3 separate regions of the Homo sapiens genome follow, and all the other regions are linked to region 1. Evidence: promoter capture Hi-C in 16 types of primary human blood cells and fetal thymus (Javierre and others, 2016). All regions are on one chromosome and are shown on one strand. Each heading gives the region's core, a stretch centred on a gene start or on the middle of the fragment in contact. The rest is flanking DNA. Distances are from core to core; before and after follow the strand shown.

Region 1 (5,072 bases), core at 889-3,388:
GTGGTGGTGCATGCCTGTAATCTCAGCTACTCGGGAAGCTGAGGCAAGGGAATCGCTTGAACCAGGGAAGCTGAGGTTGCAGTGAGATCACACGACTGCACTCCAGCCTGGGTAACACAGTGAGACTCCATCTCAAAAAAAAAAAAAAAAAAAGAAACGCTAAATGCATATAAACCTAGAAAAAAACTGATGTCTTTACTCTTTAAAGCACTAAAGGATTCTCATACAATTCAAACCTGAATAGTTTGGCCCTTGTGGCATCTCACCCCTGGAGAATCCAAGAACCAGCCAGTTTTCAGGAGATTAGCAGACACCTCTGGAATAAACTTCAAACTACCATGAGTTCCTTTTCATGTCAAGTGGTGAAAGCAACATAAATGAAAGGAGAAAATGCAAAACGGAGAAGGGGAAGAGAGAGGCCAAGAAAGAGAAAGCAAAAATGGAAAAAGCATAAGCAAATGCAATTTTTCTACAACCCAGGGAGGGTGGGCATGGGGGAGGAGAGGGCGTTTCCAACTTCCAAACTTCACAGCAATCTCATGCTCTCAGAACACACTCTGCTGAAAGTAAGAGATCCCACTCAAAGTGACTCGTAAATAGTGGGGCCTTAAGCCTTAGAAACAATACAAGACGGACAACTATGGCACCGGGACTTGAGATTAACTGCGGTTACTGAATAAGGGCACTTGACTTCAGCTTACCCTTCACCGTCTCCTCTCCTCCTCCTGGTTTGGGACTTAAGAGCCTGAAAAGACTAGAACTTCCGAATTTTAGAAAGAATTTTACTTCAGAAAGTGGCTAAACTTAAGAGGTCTGGCAAGACCACCCTGACAGATTGCACCCTCCCACATCCACCAAAAGAAGTTATCATCCGGCCCCTGAACGATTCTTCTTGCTTCTAGTCTCTAGGTCTCAGTCCGGTATTAATAGAAATGTTTGGCGAACGCCTGTTTTCTAAAAGCAACAAATTTGTGCCATTACAATCTTCTGTAATCTGATGTGAGCGTGGCCGGGTTGGCCCGGCTCCCCTGGTGCGGCTCCTAGTGCCAGGAGGCCGCGGGCTCTAGCACCGGGCTCCTCAGTCCAGCCGACGTGCCCCGTTTCGGGAAGGCCTCCCAAAAAACACGGCTACAGCTGGCGAAACTGGCACAAGTTCCCTTCCCATCTTTTCCCAACTCGTGCTTCCCACGGCATGCTGCCTCCAAAAAAGGAAGAAACCGGCGAAAAGGTTAGCTGTCGCTGGCTAGTATTTAGCATAGGAGCTTGTTTGCAAAACATCTGGGCACCAAAAAACCTAGCTTTACAGAAAACGCACAACCCTGAGTCCCGCAACGGAGATTTAGTGAGAGCCTATGGTGGCGAGGCCCACGGTGCCCTTGGACCCCCACTCCACCAGGTCGCCCGGGCCAGGAAGAGGGGAGGTCAGGTCACCCGGCCACCCCTAGCTATTACACGTTGACCCAAGCCACTCTGGGGGCCACAGATGAGTAAGCTGACTAACAGGAAGGACAGGCGCGCGAACCCGACCGTCGACCCAGCGGGGACGCGAAGGGGAAACCTGGGGGAGTGGCCCGGGGACGCCTGCTGGCTCCGGGGCTGCTCCCCGCAGGCGGCAGCCCGAGGCGGAGCTGCAGAGGCCATCTGGCGCGGAAGGCAGAAGCCGGCCCTCAGCCTCCCCGCCCTTCCTCCGCCTTCCCTCGCCTACACGCACAAGCTCCAGGCACGTTCCCGGGACCCGAAAAGGCAGAAGCCACTTCTCGGCCCGCTCCTCCTTCCCGGCGAGCATCCCCCGAGCGCCCCGCAGAGACACGTGGAGGCAGGGGGCGCGGGCTGGCGGGTTCCCCGGAACTCTGGGGCGCGGGCTGCAGCGCCCGCCGCGCGCCACTCACTTGTTGGCCGGAGCGGGGCTTGCCCTGGGGCGCTCTCCTGAAGAAGGAGGTCCTGGCGGTGAAGAAGAAGTCCTCGGCGTCCTCCTCCAGGCTGCTGTAGCCGCTGCTCATGCTGCCGGTCCCGTCGCGCGCGGGCGGCCTCCCCGGGGCGCAGGCGGCCAGGGAGGGGGTGCGGCGCCCGCCAGCCCCGCGAGGTTCCCGGCGCGCAGCCCCGGGCAGTCCTTATGCAGCTGCGGCCGCCGCTCAATCAGGCTCTCCCGGCCCCTCCTGCCGCCTCCCCGCCAGGCTCCAGGCGCGGCTCGGCCCCGGTGCGCCCGCGACCCCGCCTCCCTGGGCCCCGCCCCGGACGGGCGACCGGCCGAGCCCCACCCCGCGCGGCCGCGACCCTCCCCGCCCGCCCGCAGGTGGGGGGAGCCCGGCCCGCCCCTTCCAGGCGCGCGGGTTTCTCCCGACAGCGTCGCGGAACCCGGAAAGCCGGGCGCTAGGGCTGCGTCTGCTGGGGCTGTGCTCGGGTCGCTTCCTCAACCTCCCGGAAACTGCAAATTCCTCTGCGAGCCGTCCGCCCGCCCCCAGCCTCGCTGGCTCGAGTTTCGGAGAGGGCGGGAGCAGAGCGGGGAACTTTCTCTGCGTCCACTCCCTGCTCGCCCCCGCACCAGGGTCCTGTAGGGGTGGGTGGGGGTTGCCCGGCCGAGGGACCCCCCAGGTCCCACGGCTTCCTGCAGCCGCAACGCCCAGTCCTGAACCCCAGCAGCTCGCCCCTCCAGGAGGATTTCAAGTTGGCAGAGATGGGTGGGGAGGTCAAAAACTGGGTTGAGTTTATTCGAATGAAAACATCCTTTCTGGTCATTCATTTGAGCTTCGGTCTTACCCTTTTCCCCTTCTTTCTAGCGAGGGCTCACTTCCAAATAAGATCGTTATCTTAGGCGCACTCAGTGCAACTGAAAGGTGAACTAGTTCTATAGTTACAGAACAATCGAGTGCTTATCAATTAAATGTGCTTTGTAAATGTCCCCGCCACAATCAGCCTTCCACGGTCACCCACAAGGCATGGTTTAAGTGGTGGGGATAAGGAGATCAGGGAATTCCATCCATCCACGTACAAAAAAAGTTTCCATGTTTTCTAAAACTCTTCAGTCAGCTAATCCTCTTAAAGCCACCAGTGGGTAACAGTCTTTTACACCTTGGTGTTACTGCACTGATTTAAATAATACTAATTTCAAGATCTTGACTGAAAGGTTTTTTTGAAGCTGCAAGCCCTGCTATAGTTAGCGAGCTTCAGAAGAGGTTTCATTAGGAGGGGAAGAGAGACGTTAGAAAAGAGAAAATGTCCATCCATCATAGCCAAACTAGCCAAACTCTCTTACATTATCTCCTTCAATCCTCCGAGCAACTCTGCAAGGTACGTAGTGCTATTTTATGCCGGTTTTACACCTAGAGCAGCAGCTGAGGCTTAAAGAAAGGAAAGTGGCTGTAGGAGGCAGTACTCGGACCGTTCTGCTTTGCGTTCTGTTGATCTGAACGTGGTCACATACCCTACTGGGTTCTCTGCTTGGTATCGGTCAGCCGTGCTCTTTTGTGGACTACAGGAGGAAGAGTTGGACCCGAAATGACGGGAAGGAGAGAAGAATTGACTCATGAGTCATCCTACTGTCCCTAGGCTGAAAGAAGGCTTGCAAACCTGCTCCACCTTCGGGCTTACACATCCATCTTGTAAACTAGTATATATTACCCCACGTGATTCACAACAACTCCAGAAGGAGGGCCTTTGAGTTACAGCCCATTTTAAAGGTCCTACAACATTAAAGTCTTCTTCTCGGCCACACAGCTACTGAATGATAGGAAGCCAGGAATTCTAACTCCATATAGTTTCACCCAGCTTAAGCTGATCCGTGTGTGTGCCATGCACATAATCTAATGTAGGAGAATAGGGCTTTATGACAAATTTTTCTTATTTGGTTTCTCTTATTTCATTATTCAGATATAATATTAGCGCAGCTCTTATTAAATATTCCAAGGTAAGAATAATGTGTAGGTTAAGGGCTTAAATTACTCATTTTATTGTGGGTAGAAAGGGGAAAATAATTTTACCTAGAACAAGTTGAAGTTTATGAATACTTTGAGGAAAAATGCATTAAAATGCTTTATTGGCCGGGCGCGATGGCTCACGCCTGAGGAGGCAGAGGCGGGTGGATCACTTGAGGTCAGGAGTTGGAAACCAGCCTGGCCAACGTGGTGAAACCCCGCCTCTACTAAAACTACAAAAATTAGTTGGGCGTGGTAGCGTGCGCCAGCTACTCGGGAGGCTGAGGCAGGAGAATCGCTTGAACCCGGAGTGGCCTAGGTTGCAGTGACCCGAGGTGGCGCCATTGCACTCCAGTCTGGGCGACAAGAGCAAAACTTCGTCTCAATAAATAAATAAATAAACTTTATGATGCACCACACCATAAAAATGATTTTTTTCATTGTATTATTTTTAAGCTCCAAAGGACTGGATTAATTTGTATATCTGTCAGCATACCATCAGAATCAGTTATAATAAAAAGGCATGATTGAGTGGGGCACAGGGGGAAGCTGAGGTGGAGGATCACTTGAACTCAGGAGTTCCTATCCAGCCTGACCAACATAGTGAGACCTTTTCTCTAAAAAAAAATGATTTTTTTATAAAGGCATGATTAGGCCAGGCATGGTGGTTTACGCCTGTAATCCCAGCACTTTGGAAGGCCGAGGTGGGAGGATTGCTTGAAGCCAGGAGTTCAAGACCAGCCTGGGCAACAAAATGAGACCCTGTCTCTACAAAAACAAAAACAAAAAACAAAAAAAAATTAGCCAATGTGGTGTCACATGCTAGTGGTCCCAGCTACTCAGGAGGCTAGGTGGAAGGATCACTTGAGCCCAGAAGTTTGAGGCTGTAATGAACTATGATCTTACCACTGCACTCTAGCCTGGGTAACAGAGTAAGAGTCTGTCTCTTAAAAAAATAAATAAATAAAATAATTTTAAAAGCCATGATCAAATAATGAAATGGAAGCACTGCTTTTAAGCAACAAAAAAAACATAAATAAAGGAAAGGGCCGAGTGAGGTGGCTCACGCCTGTAATGCCAGCATTTTGGGAGGCTGAGGCCGGCAGATCACTTGAGGTCAGGAGTTCAAGACCAGCCTGACCAACATGGTGAAACCCCCAT
Region 2 (5,072 bases), core at 918-3,417, 2.3 Mb after region 1:
GCCTTTGAAGACATATATTCCGAGACCCCTAGTGGATGCCTGAAACTACAAATAGCACACTAATCCCTATATTCACTATGTTTTTTCCTTTACAAACATACATACCTATGACGAAGTTTAATTTATTAATTACGCACACTAAGAGATTAACAATAGCTAATAATAAAATAGAACAATTAGAACAATATACTATAATAAAGGTTATGTGTATGTGGTCTCTCAAGGTAGCTTATCATATTGTACTCACCCTTTTTCTTGTAATGATATGAGATGATTAAATGTCTACCTGATGAGAAGAGGTGAAGTGAATGATGTACATTGTAACGCTGCATTATGCTACTAATGCCCTTCAACAAAGCACTGTGACAGTAGATTGATAACCAAGATGGCTACTAAGTGACAAACGGGAAGGTAGTGTATAGTGTCCATGGGGAGGACATGGAGTGGGATGGCATCATGTTACTCAGAATGGTGCACAATTTAAAACTCACGAATTGTTTATTTCCAGAATTTCCCACTTAATATTTTTGGACCATGGTTGCTTGCAGGTAACTGAAATCGCGGAAAGCAAAACCATAGATAAGGGGGACTACTGTAGTGCCTCTTGATGTATAGGCCTGTGAACTAAGAGACAAGTTTTCTGCCCCCCATACACCCAAAATAAAACAATGAAGCACACAGAACATAGCCTTTTAAATATTCCTGTTTTGTAAGAGGGGAAATAGGACGTACAAAGGAATCAATGGTCCATAACGATTATGAAATCTACCTGGACAAATACTAGAAATTCCTTGACTGGAACTCAGTTCTACCCTTGCCTGAAAATTATTCTATCTAACATTTGGTTCTGTTCTCTGAGTCATCCTTTTTTCATGCATTAGCACATGCTTGAAGTTAAGTAAATTTTCAGCCTGATTCCTACTTATTGGAGTTTGGGAGGTCAAAGGCGTCTTTCATTTAATACTGCTTCTGCAGTCCAAAATGGCAGTGGTTCTGCGAGGTAATTCGAAAACAATGTAGGTCTCCACTGGATCTTACTGGAGTTCATTCCATTAGACAAAAGCCATATCCACAAATGTTCTGTAGGATAAGTCCTCTCTACTTTGGCTTTATGCTGAGAAAGCTAAGGGGTTGCCCGTAAGCTTCTTGAAGCCCTCCTGTTCTTAGAAGCCACATATTGAGAAGACACCCTTAATATTAATTAATATTACTACTGACAGGACAACCTCTAAGTTAACCCTTAAATACTTTATAGGGCCTTTTGTCTGAATAGTACTGTGAGGCATGACCTTTGATTTTTCTGAGGTAACTTACAGTCACACCCTTGGCTGCCAGATTAGATCACACTTTTTTTCTGAGAATACTCTGAGTTTTATCTTTGCTCAGAAACACTGCTTAGTATTAGCACCGTTTGCCATCTGGAGGGACTAGGAATCTTCAAAACTAGTAAATATTGGCTCTGTTTTATTGAACAATCCTTTCTTTAGTGTATTTCTCTTCTCTCACATCTGACTATAACCAACACAAAAAGAAACTAGGCAGTACTTTTAACACTTTGGCAGACCTATAATTTCATTAAATACTATCTTTAACCTTTCAGTTTACTGCAGGCAACATGTTGCTAAACTTACTCTACCACTGTATAACAAAGACCACTTTCTACCAGTTTCCAGTAAGACTTTCCTCACTTCAAGTTCTCACTGGCAGCTATCTCAAAGTCTAGTAATCTACTAACGGTTTGTTTAAGGCCCTTTAAGCTTTCATTGATACTCTTAAAGTTCTGACAACCTCTATTCACTGTCAGCTCCAAAGCCACGCCACATTTCAAGTTTTCATATCAGCACCTATTTACAGGTACCATGATTAGTATTAGTTATCTATTGCTGCATAATAAATTACCCCAAAATTTACCAGCTTAACACAGCAAACATTATCTCACAATGTTTCTGAGGGTCAAGAATCTGGGAGCAGCTTAACTGGGTTGATTTGGTGTAGAGTTTCTCATGAGGTTGCTCTCAAGGTATGGCTGGGGTTTCAATCATCTGAAAGCTAAACTAGAACTAAAGGATCCACTTCCAAGGTCACTCACATGGTTGTTGCAGGCCTCCGTTCCTCTCTATTGGCCAGAGATCTCAGTTCCTCACCATGTGGGCCTCTCCATAGGCTGCCTGAGTGTCCTCGCCATATGCAGTTGAATTCCCCGAGTGAGAAATGAGAAAGAGAGACAGCTAGAGTGCGTGTGCACCCAAGATGTAAGCCGCGGTGTTTTTTTATAACCTAATCTCGAAAGCGATGTACCATGAGTACTGCTATATGCTATTGGCCACACAGACCAACCTCAGTACAACATGGAAGAAGAGTGCCCAAGAATATGGATATGAGGAGCTGGGGATCACCAGGGAACATAGTAGAGAATATTATCTTAACTTACATGCTAACACTATTGTGTAGTTAATTCTATACACATTTTCAACTCCATAAAAATTATTATTAATGTTTTCAACAGTCCATCTTAAGACTTACTCACAACATTTACATTTTGTCAGTCTACACTGTTTTCCTGCATCTCCAAGCTTTCATCTGGAATAATTTTCCTTCCATTCTTAAGATTATTTTGTAGTGCCTTTAATACACGTCTGCAGGTAACAAATTCTATTAGTTTTCATTTGAAAATGGCTTTTTTCACCTTCATCCCTGAAGGATTATTTTCTTAGTCACAGAATCCTACATTGGCAGTTATTTTCTTTTAACATATCAAAGTCCATTGTTTTCTGGCTTCCATGGTTTCTCTTGAGAAATCATTATTTTGTCTTATCCTTATTTTGAAGATAACATGTCTTTTTCTCTGGCTATTATTAGAAATTTTTTTGCCTTTGCTTTTCAACATTTGTACTAGGTACAGTTTTGTTTGTATTATTTCAGTTTGGGATTCATAGCATTTCTTTAAAGCATGACACCTTTCTCAGTTTGGGAAAATTCTCAGCTATTACGTCCTTTGGTATTAGTTCTACCCACTCTTTCTTTCCTCTCCAAGATTCCAACTATATGTATGCATGTTAAACTTACTTACTGCATTCCATTTATGCCTTAGCTTTTTTCTGTATTTTCTATTCTTTTGTCTCTCTAAGCTTTAGACTCTATATTTTCTATTGACAAATCATTTAGTTTACAAATTTTCTCTTCAGTTCTGTTTGGTCTAATAATTTTATTCCCAAACATTAAATCCATAAAATTTCCATATTATTAGTTTTAGAATTCTATTTGCTTCTTCTTTAATAGTTTTGCCCTACTTCTCATCTGCCTTTTTTTTTTTTTTTAAGCATAATAAGCCCACTATTCTAAAATCTACTAACTCAATTACCTGGGTTTCTTATGGGTCTGTTTCTATTGTCTGCTGTTTCTCTTGGATTTTGATTCCATCGTATTTTCTGCTTATATCCTTGCTTTCTTTTCGTCCATTCTTTGAGTGTTGACACTATAAATGACGCATTTTAGAGATCTTTGAGGTACAGGAAGATGTTTAACTTGGTTTCTGCATTATAGCTAGGGGAACCACCAATCCTAGATTCTTTAATGCAATCAGAGATGGGTAACATTGAAAGTTGGGCTTCAGACACTATAAGCTGGTCTATTTACTTCTTTGAGTTCCACCTGCATCAGTCATGTGGGCCACAGTGAAAATGCAAATGAAATTCCCAAATTTAAGTGTGATTAATTAAATTTTACTGCAGATTTAATGTTGTAGGAAATTGCATCTGTAATAAGAACTCCACGCAATGTAATATAGCACATGAACATTTGCAAACTATTTTACAGGTTGAATATATTTCATTCATCTTGTTAAAAATAAGTATGTGGTCTCCCAAGAGATTTGTCAATGTTTTTTCTTCTACTTGTGTGAAATTTTTGATTATATTTTACTTTGTTATTAGACACAGGTTTCAAGAACTCTCAATGAGGACTATTTCAAAGAGTAATGGCAATGAAATTGGTAGTTGATCTGTTTATCATACTGAAGACCGCTAGTGTATAATGTGCTACATTTATAAGAAAAAAAAGTGTATCATTAAGATTAAAGGAATACAGTGTAATACCTTTAGAGATATTTTGGACACAAATTTTCCTTTATCCTAGGAATGAAATAATTCTAGACAGTTTTACAGCTAAATAGGCTACCTTTGATCAAAACACTCAATTCTCCAGCAACTATAGATAAAGCAACTAGATCATTTCACAGATCTATAAGGCTAGCATTCCTACAACAGAGAAATTCTAATTTTGAAGTGGCTGAGTGAAACTAAGGAATAAAACTAAACAAAAATAAATAAAAGGTACATTCAAGATCTATTCAGAAAATAAGATCCAAGGTTAGCTTCTAATATACCTAAAACCATGGATACACAAATACAAATTGTTAACATGGCAACTTTGTAGCATCAATTCCAAATAAATTCAAATATAGTTAGGTCTACTAGAGGTTTTTTTACCCTTATGTTACCTAATCCAACTTTTTAATTGTTTCTATGTGGCGGGGGATGGGGGGAGGGTCGGGGGACCCAAACCAGATACAAAATTATGCCAAGAGATTTTGGTCCCTTCTCAGCCTCCCACCCCTCCTACAATAAATGATCAAATACATGTGTAAGGTTCACTCATTTACCTTGAATATTTGGTATTCTACTACAGCAACACCCTTACTTATTGCTTTTTAGTTCCCTAAAAAAACGAAATTGGTTATTCTTAATGTTTCTAGACTACAATTTTAAAATGTTAAAGGATATGAAAAAAAATCTACATTTTCAAGTTTAAAAAATTTTTATGTTCCAAAAAACATTGCTTCAACTTTTAGTTTCTTCATTGTTTTCTAATTGTTTTATCAAAAACAGTGCAGCACAGAAAACAGGGTCAGGTTGCCAAAGTCTGTATCCTGATATGACTTTCTAAAATAACTAGATCCTAACTTTTTATCCTCATTTCCTACTACTTACCTTACAGAGTTTTCTCTCTATATATAGAGGATTAATCAATAATACATACTTACAATAGTGGCTAGCATAAGTAAACCTTCTTAA
Region 3 (5,072 bases), core at 1,788-4,287, 2.0 Mb after region 1:
TAAAAAGTCACTAGGATATATACTTCAAAATAAAAGCTATTTAATAGTGATAATATTGGTAAATTTGAAAGAACTCTCTTGGCCAAGTGTGGTGGCTAACGCCTGTAATCCTAGCACTTTAGGAGGCTGAGGCAGGAGGATCACTTGAGCCCAGGAGCTCAAGACCAGCGTGGGCAACAAAGTGAGACCCTGCCTCTATTTATTTTTAAACAAGAAAAGAAAAAAAAGTATCTTATATTTGTAATAATGCTTCAATGTGTTTATTCCTTCAACCTTATATATATATATATTTTAGATAGAGTCTCACTCTGTCACCCAGGCTGAAGTGCAGTGGCACGATCTCAGCTCACTGCAACCTCCACCTCTGGGGTTTAAGCGATTCTCCTGCCTCAGCCTCCCCAGTAGCTGGGACTACAGGCATGCACCATCATGCCCGGCTAATTTTTTGTATTTTTAGTAGAGACCAGGTTTCACCATGTTGGCCAGGCTGCTCTCGAATTCCTGACCTCAAGTAATCCACCTGCCTCGGCCTCTCAAAGTGCTGGGATTACAGGCGTGAGCCACCGCGCCCGGCCTCCTTCAACCTTATTTATATATGTGTGTGTATGCCTGGCATTTGTGGTACACATTCAAAAACATGATAATTTCTGTGCTTAGTAAAATGCAAAATCATTGTTTCTTTTGATCCACAGGTTGGTTATATTTTTTTACCTTTGTAGTGTGCTAATATATTCAAAGCAGTAACAGCACTCAGTTAAATATTTAAATTAGATTAATAACACTGGTAATATGTAGATGCACAATGAACTAACTGCTAAGTGTTAACATATATTGATGGGGGCTGGGCGCGGTGGCTCACACCTATAATCCCAGCACTTTGGGAGACGGAGGTGGGCGATCAATTGAGCCCTGTAGTTTTGAGACCAGCCTGGGCAACATGGCAAAACCCTGTCTCTACAAAAAATACAAAAATTAGCCAGGGGTGGTGGCGTGTGCCTGTAGTCTTAGCTACTCAGGAGGCTGAGGTGGAAAGATCGCTTGAGCCTGGGAGTTGAAGGTTGCAGTGAGCTGTGACCACGCCACTGCACTCCAGCCTGGATGACAGTGAGACCCTGTCTAAACACACACACACACACACACACACACACACACACACACAAAGAAGGTTAAGAAAAAAGGAATCTAACTGGAAACAAAAAATCGAATAAATTGCTAGAACAATTATTAGAGTTCCATTTAAAAGGACAAACATTCTATCATTTGCAACGACATGTTTAAACTTGGAGGACATTACACTAAATAAGCCAGGCATAGAAAGACAAATACTACATGATCTCATTTATATGTGGAATATAAAAAAGTCAAACTCAGAGAAGCAGAAAGGAGAGAATAGTGTTACCAGGGGCTTATAGACAGAGGGGGTAAGGTACTGGGGAGATGTTGGCTAAAGGGTACAAAGTTTCAGTTAGACAGGAGGAATAACAAAATAAAAGAGGAAAAACAGAACTAAGCTTATTGAAAGCAGTTAAAGCCAAACAAATTTTTTTAGTGAGCTGATTTTGCTTAGAGTACTTGTTTAAGAATGTGAAATAAGGCATACTTCTAGAAAAAGACTATGGAACTAGAAAAATAATATTTAAAATGGAAAGTTATTAAGTTTAATAGGCTAACATTAAAGCAAGTACTTTATACATACAAAGTACTTAGTAAAAGTTCTCAACACATCTCTTATTAATTCTAATTACTAGTTTTAATTATAATAGATATATTTAAACAATGGTATCCTTGTTGTGGGTATGTGTGAACTTGCACTATATTAGTCAATATATTTGATCTGGAGTATAAGGAAAATGGACTGATCCTCTGATAGACTTCAAGGTAGTATTTCAAAGTGGCCTGGGAGGATACCCTAAGAACACTTAGCTGCACCTTACTGACCTTCACATGGTTTTGTATGTGTTCTCACTTTGCTTTGGTTGTCTCCAAACCACAGGAATCTTTCTTTGTCTTGTTTTACGTGTTTTTGAGTTTTTATTATGGAACATTCTAAATATACACAAAAGTAGAACAGAATAAAAAAACCCATCTACCCATCACCCATCATCAATACCAACACTAAGACAAGCTTCTTTCCTGTGTACTCCCATATATGCTTCCCATCCCCCATGGATTAAAGTATGAAGCAAAGTCCGATCATATCATTCATTAGTAAATTATTTAGTATGCATATACCAAAAGATTTTTAAAAACTATAACCACAATACCATTTTCAAAAACAATTCTTTAACTTCTAATATTCAGTCAGTTTTAAAATTTCTCCAATTGTCTCATAAATGTGTTTGTGGTTAGCTTTGATCAAATTAGGATCCAAACAAGGTCTATACATTGCAATTAAACCGATAAATATCTTTAAATTCATTTTACTCTACAGGTTTTCCTGCCCTTCTTTCCTTAAAAATTTTTTTTCCTTAGATCATTTGTCTTATAGAATTTCAGTGTGGATTTTTGCTACTTGTGCTCCTGTGGTGATTTAACAATGTTCCCCTATATCTTAAATTTCTAATAAACTACTCATCAGATCTAGAAACTTGATGAGAGTCTAGAGTCTTAGTAAACCACTATCTAGTTCAATTATTTGAACTAGAATATCTAGTTATCTGTTTTTGTAATATTAAAATTGATCAGTGAGTTGAAGTGCGGTTGCCCTGATCCATGAATTAAATACTTCTCTACTACTGATTCATTAATCACATACTTCTCCATCAGCATTTTACTTAATGGTTTCAACCATTAAGTTAGCCATTGAAGAGGTCTAGCTTTATTTCATGAGCTGTTGTAAATGTTAACATTCTATCAGACGTTCTGCACTGTGAAACTGGAATTATTCTGTAATGAGGAAATCTCCCTCACAACCATTTAGTTACCCCGAGGTATAAATTATATAAGGAAGGTAGGATACTTCTTTCTTTCCTGTTCTCAGGCACCACAAGGCTCATAATCGCTCTCCATAGCTTATACTGTTAAAATAATCTGACGTTTCTGCTCCAGAGAGATGCATTCTCTACCTACTCACAGTGCACTCCTGCTTCTTTGAACTTTTACCATGTTTAGAGTGTACATCATAAAATGTGATGTCTGGCTATGGGGTCTAGATTCCTCCACAAGGTAGTTGGGCACTTGCTACAACATTGTAAGCTCTTAAAGGTGAAGTACCTCCTGCAGTGTTATCCTGTTTAGGAGATAGAAAACAGCCCTGGCTGACCAGGCGCGGTGGCTCTTGCCTGTAATACCAGCACTTTGGGAGGCCAAGGTGGGCGGATCATGAGGTCAGCAGTTCGAGACCAGCCTGGCCAACACGGTGAAACCTCATCTCTACTAAAAATACAAACATTAGCTGGGCGTGGTGGCGGGCGCCTGTAATCCCAGCTACTTAGGAGGCTGAGGCAGGAGAATTGCTTGAACCTGGGAGGTGGAGGTTGCAGTGAGCCGAGATCGTGCCATTGTACTCCAGCCTGGGCAACAAGAGCAAGATTCCGTCTCAAAAAAAAAAAAAGAAAGAAAGAAAACAGCCCTGGTGAAACTAAATTATCATCTTTTTTTAAAAAAAATAGGTACAATTATAACAAAAATCAATGGGAAATGGCTTTTTTAAAACATACAACTGGAATATCAATAGTGGTTTTGGAGCAAGGGCTCTAGAACAGGTGTATGAGTGGAACTCAGGTTTGAAAACAACTCAGGTGGCCCATGGATTGTCCTCACTACATGTCTGTAATTATTATTATAGGGAAATGTATTCCTTTTACAATGTGAATTCCATAATGTGGAGTTGGTTTTTTTGTGTTTGTTTTTGTTTTATCTTCTGTATATTCCCAGCACCTGACATAGAGCAGGTATCCGATTCACCTGTTGAATTTATCTGGAACTTATTTATTCTGTATAAGCTTCATTCACTACAAAAAGAAATGAATGGCAGATAGGATTCTTATTCTTAGGTTTTTCGTCCGAACTCTTAAAAAGTATGTAAATTTGTTTTTAAAACAGAAAAATATACTTTAATTTGCTTATGTATCTGTTTTTAGAGTTTAGTCAACTCTTTCGGCCATCTATTACGGTAACATTAAGTCAGTGTTACTATTATGACTAAAACTAGCCCATGCCTGTATCTACATAATACTTCTGTTTAACAAGGGCTTTAAAATACACTATGTGCAGAATATTAAAACAGCAATCTCTGAATCTTAATACCTTTTTGGTAGTTATGTTCAAAGTGAGATAAAACACCCGTTAATTGTTTATTACTCAACCTAAGAGCAGTTAAGGGATTTTTCAGGTATAACAGAAAACACATTACAACTACATATATGATCTAAACTGTCAATGTCTGTGGACAGTTTTTAGTCCTTAATTTACTTGAATTTTCTGTGACATATCACACAGCTTGGCTTTCTGCGAACTCCTGACTTCCATGATAAAATACTCTCAATTATATTATAATGGAACTAACGGAATTTGTAAACCTGATTCGAAGAAAATAATATTTTCTGTAAGTGTTGTTTGATGTTGAATAAGAGGAAAGAACTAGGAACTTATCCTTAAAAACACAAGATTGTGTCTTAGGTTTGTTCATATTTGATATAACTAAAAGACTAAAGTTACACTATCGGGTGTCAATAGTATGCCTTTAAAGGACCCTATTCACAAATTTAGTGGCCAAAAATCCTGTGTAGGCACAATTCCATTACATCTGAACAAAACAGCACTTTTAAAGAAAGGTAAATGTAAAACAAATTTAACCAAAAAAAAAATTTTCAACTTGAGATAAGAAAACACATAAATTCCATGTAGAACTGCTAATATTTCTTTTAATTCTGATGACACTCCCAGCGTATTTGTAGCAGATAATATGAAACTAAACTGTAAATCACCTAGAGTATCATTATCACTGCGATTGTCATCTCCAAGATCTCAGGCAACAAACCTAACCAAAAGAACTCCCTAAATTACTATACTATTTGAAGTGTTCCATACTTCCCTTCCCCCTTAGCTCATTCAATCACTTTTCTGCCAGG

Evidence for each region. The method cuts DNA at HindIII sites, captures the fragments that hold promoters and counts their contacts. A CHiCAGO score of 5 or more calls a contact.
Region 2: a contact is called between a fragment that was not itself captured here and the fragment with the promoter of RASSF3 in region 1, in 1 of 17 cell types (activated CD4 T cells). The highest score is 5.6, in activated CD4 T cells.
Region 3: a contact is called between a fragment that was not itself captured here and the fragment with the promoter of RASSF3 in region 1, in 1 of 17 cell types (total CD4 T cells). The highest score is 5.4, in total CD4 T cells.

The regions. Positions count from the first base shown.
Region 1 is chr12:64,607,561-64,612,632 of GRCh38, reverse strand. RASSF3 (Ras association domain family member 3) reads right to left here and starts at 2,138. Exons shown (of 5, transcript NM_178169.4): 1 at 1,890-2,138. The coding sequence starts at 2,000. It overlaps RASSF3-DT (RASSF3 divergent transcript), which reads left to right and starts at 3,167. Exons shown (of 2, transcript NR_187549.1): 1 at 3,167-3,288. RefSeq lists silencers at 1,609-1,678, 1,889-2,408, 2,569-2,638 and enhancers at 3,269-3,328, 3,549-3,598. The HindIII fragment of the contact is 11,544 bases long and covers 1-5,072 here.
Region 2 is chr12:62,303,076-62,308,147 of GRCh38, reverse strand. All of the region lies in intron 3 of USP15 (ubiquitin specific peptidase 15), which reads right to left. Among named protein-coding and RNA genes, the nearest start is that of USP15, 45 kb to the right of the region's middle. The HindIII fragment of the contact is 816 bases long and covers 1,760-2,575 here.
Region 3 is chr12:62,607,025-62,612,096 of GRCh38, reverse strand. All of the region lies in intron 1 of MIRLET7IHG (MIRLET7I host gene), which reads right to left. Among named protein-coding and RNA genes, the nearest start is that of MIRLET7I, 5.9 kb to the right of the region's middle. The HindIII fragment of the contact is 1,819 bases long and covers 2,128-3,946 here.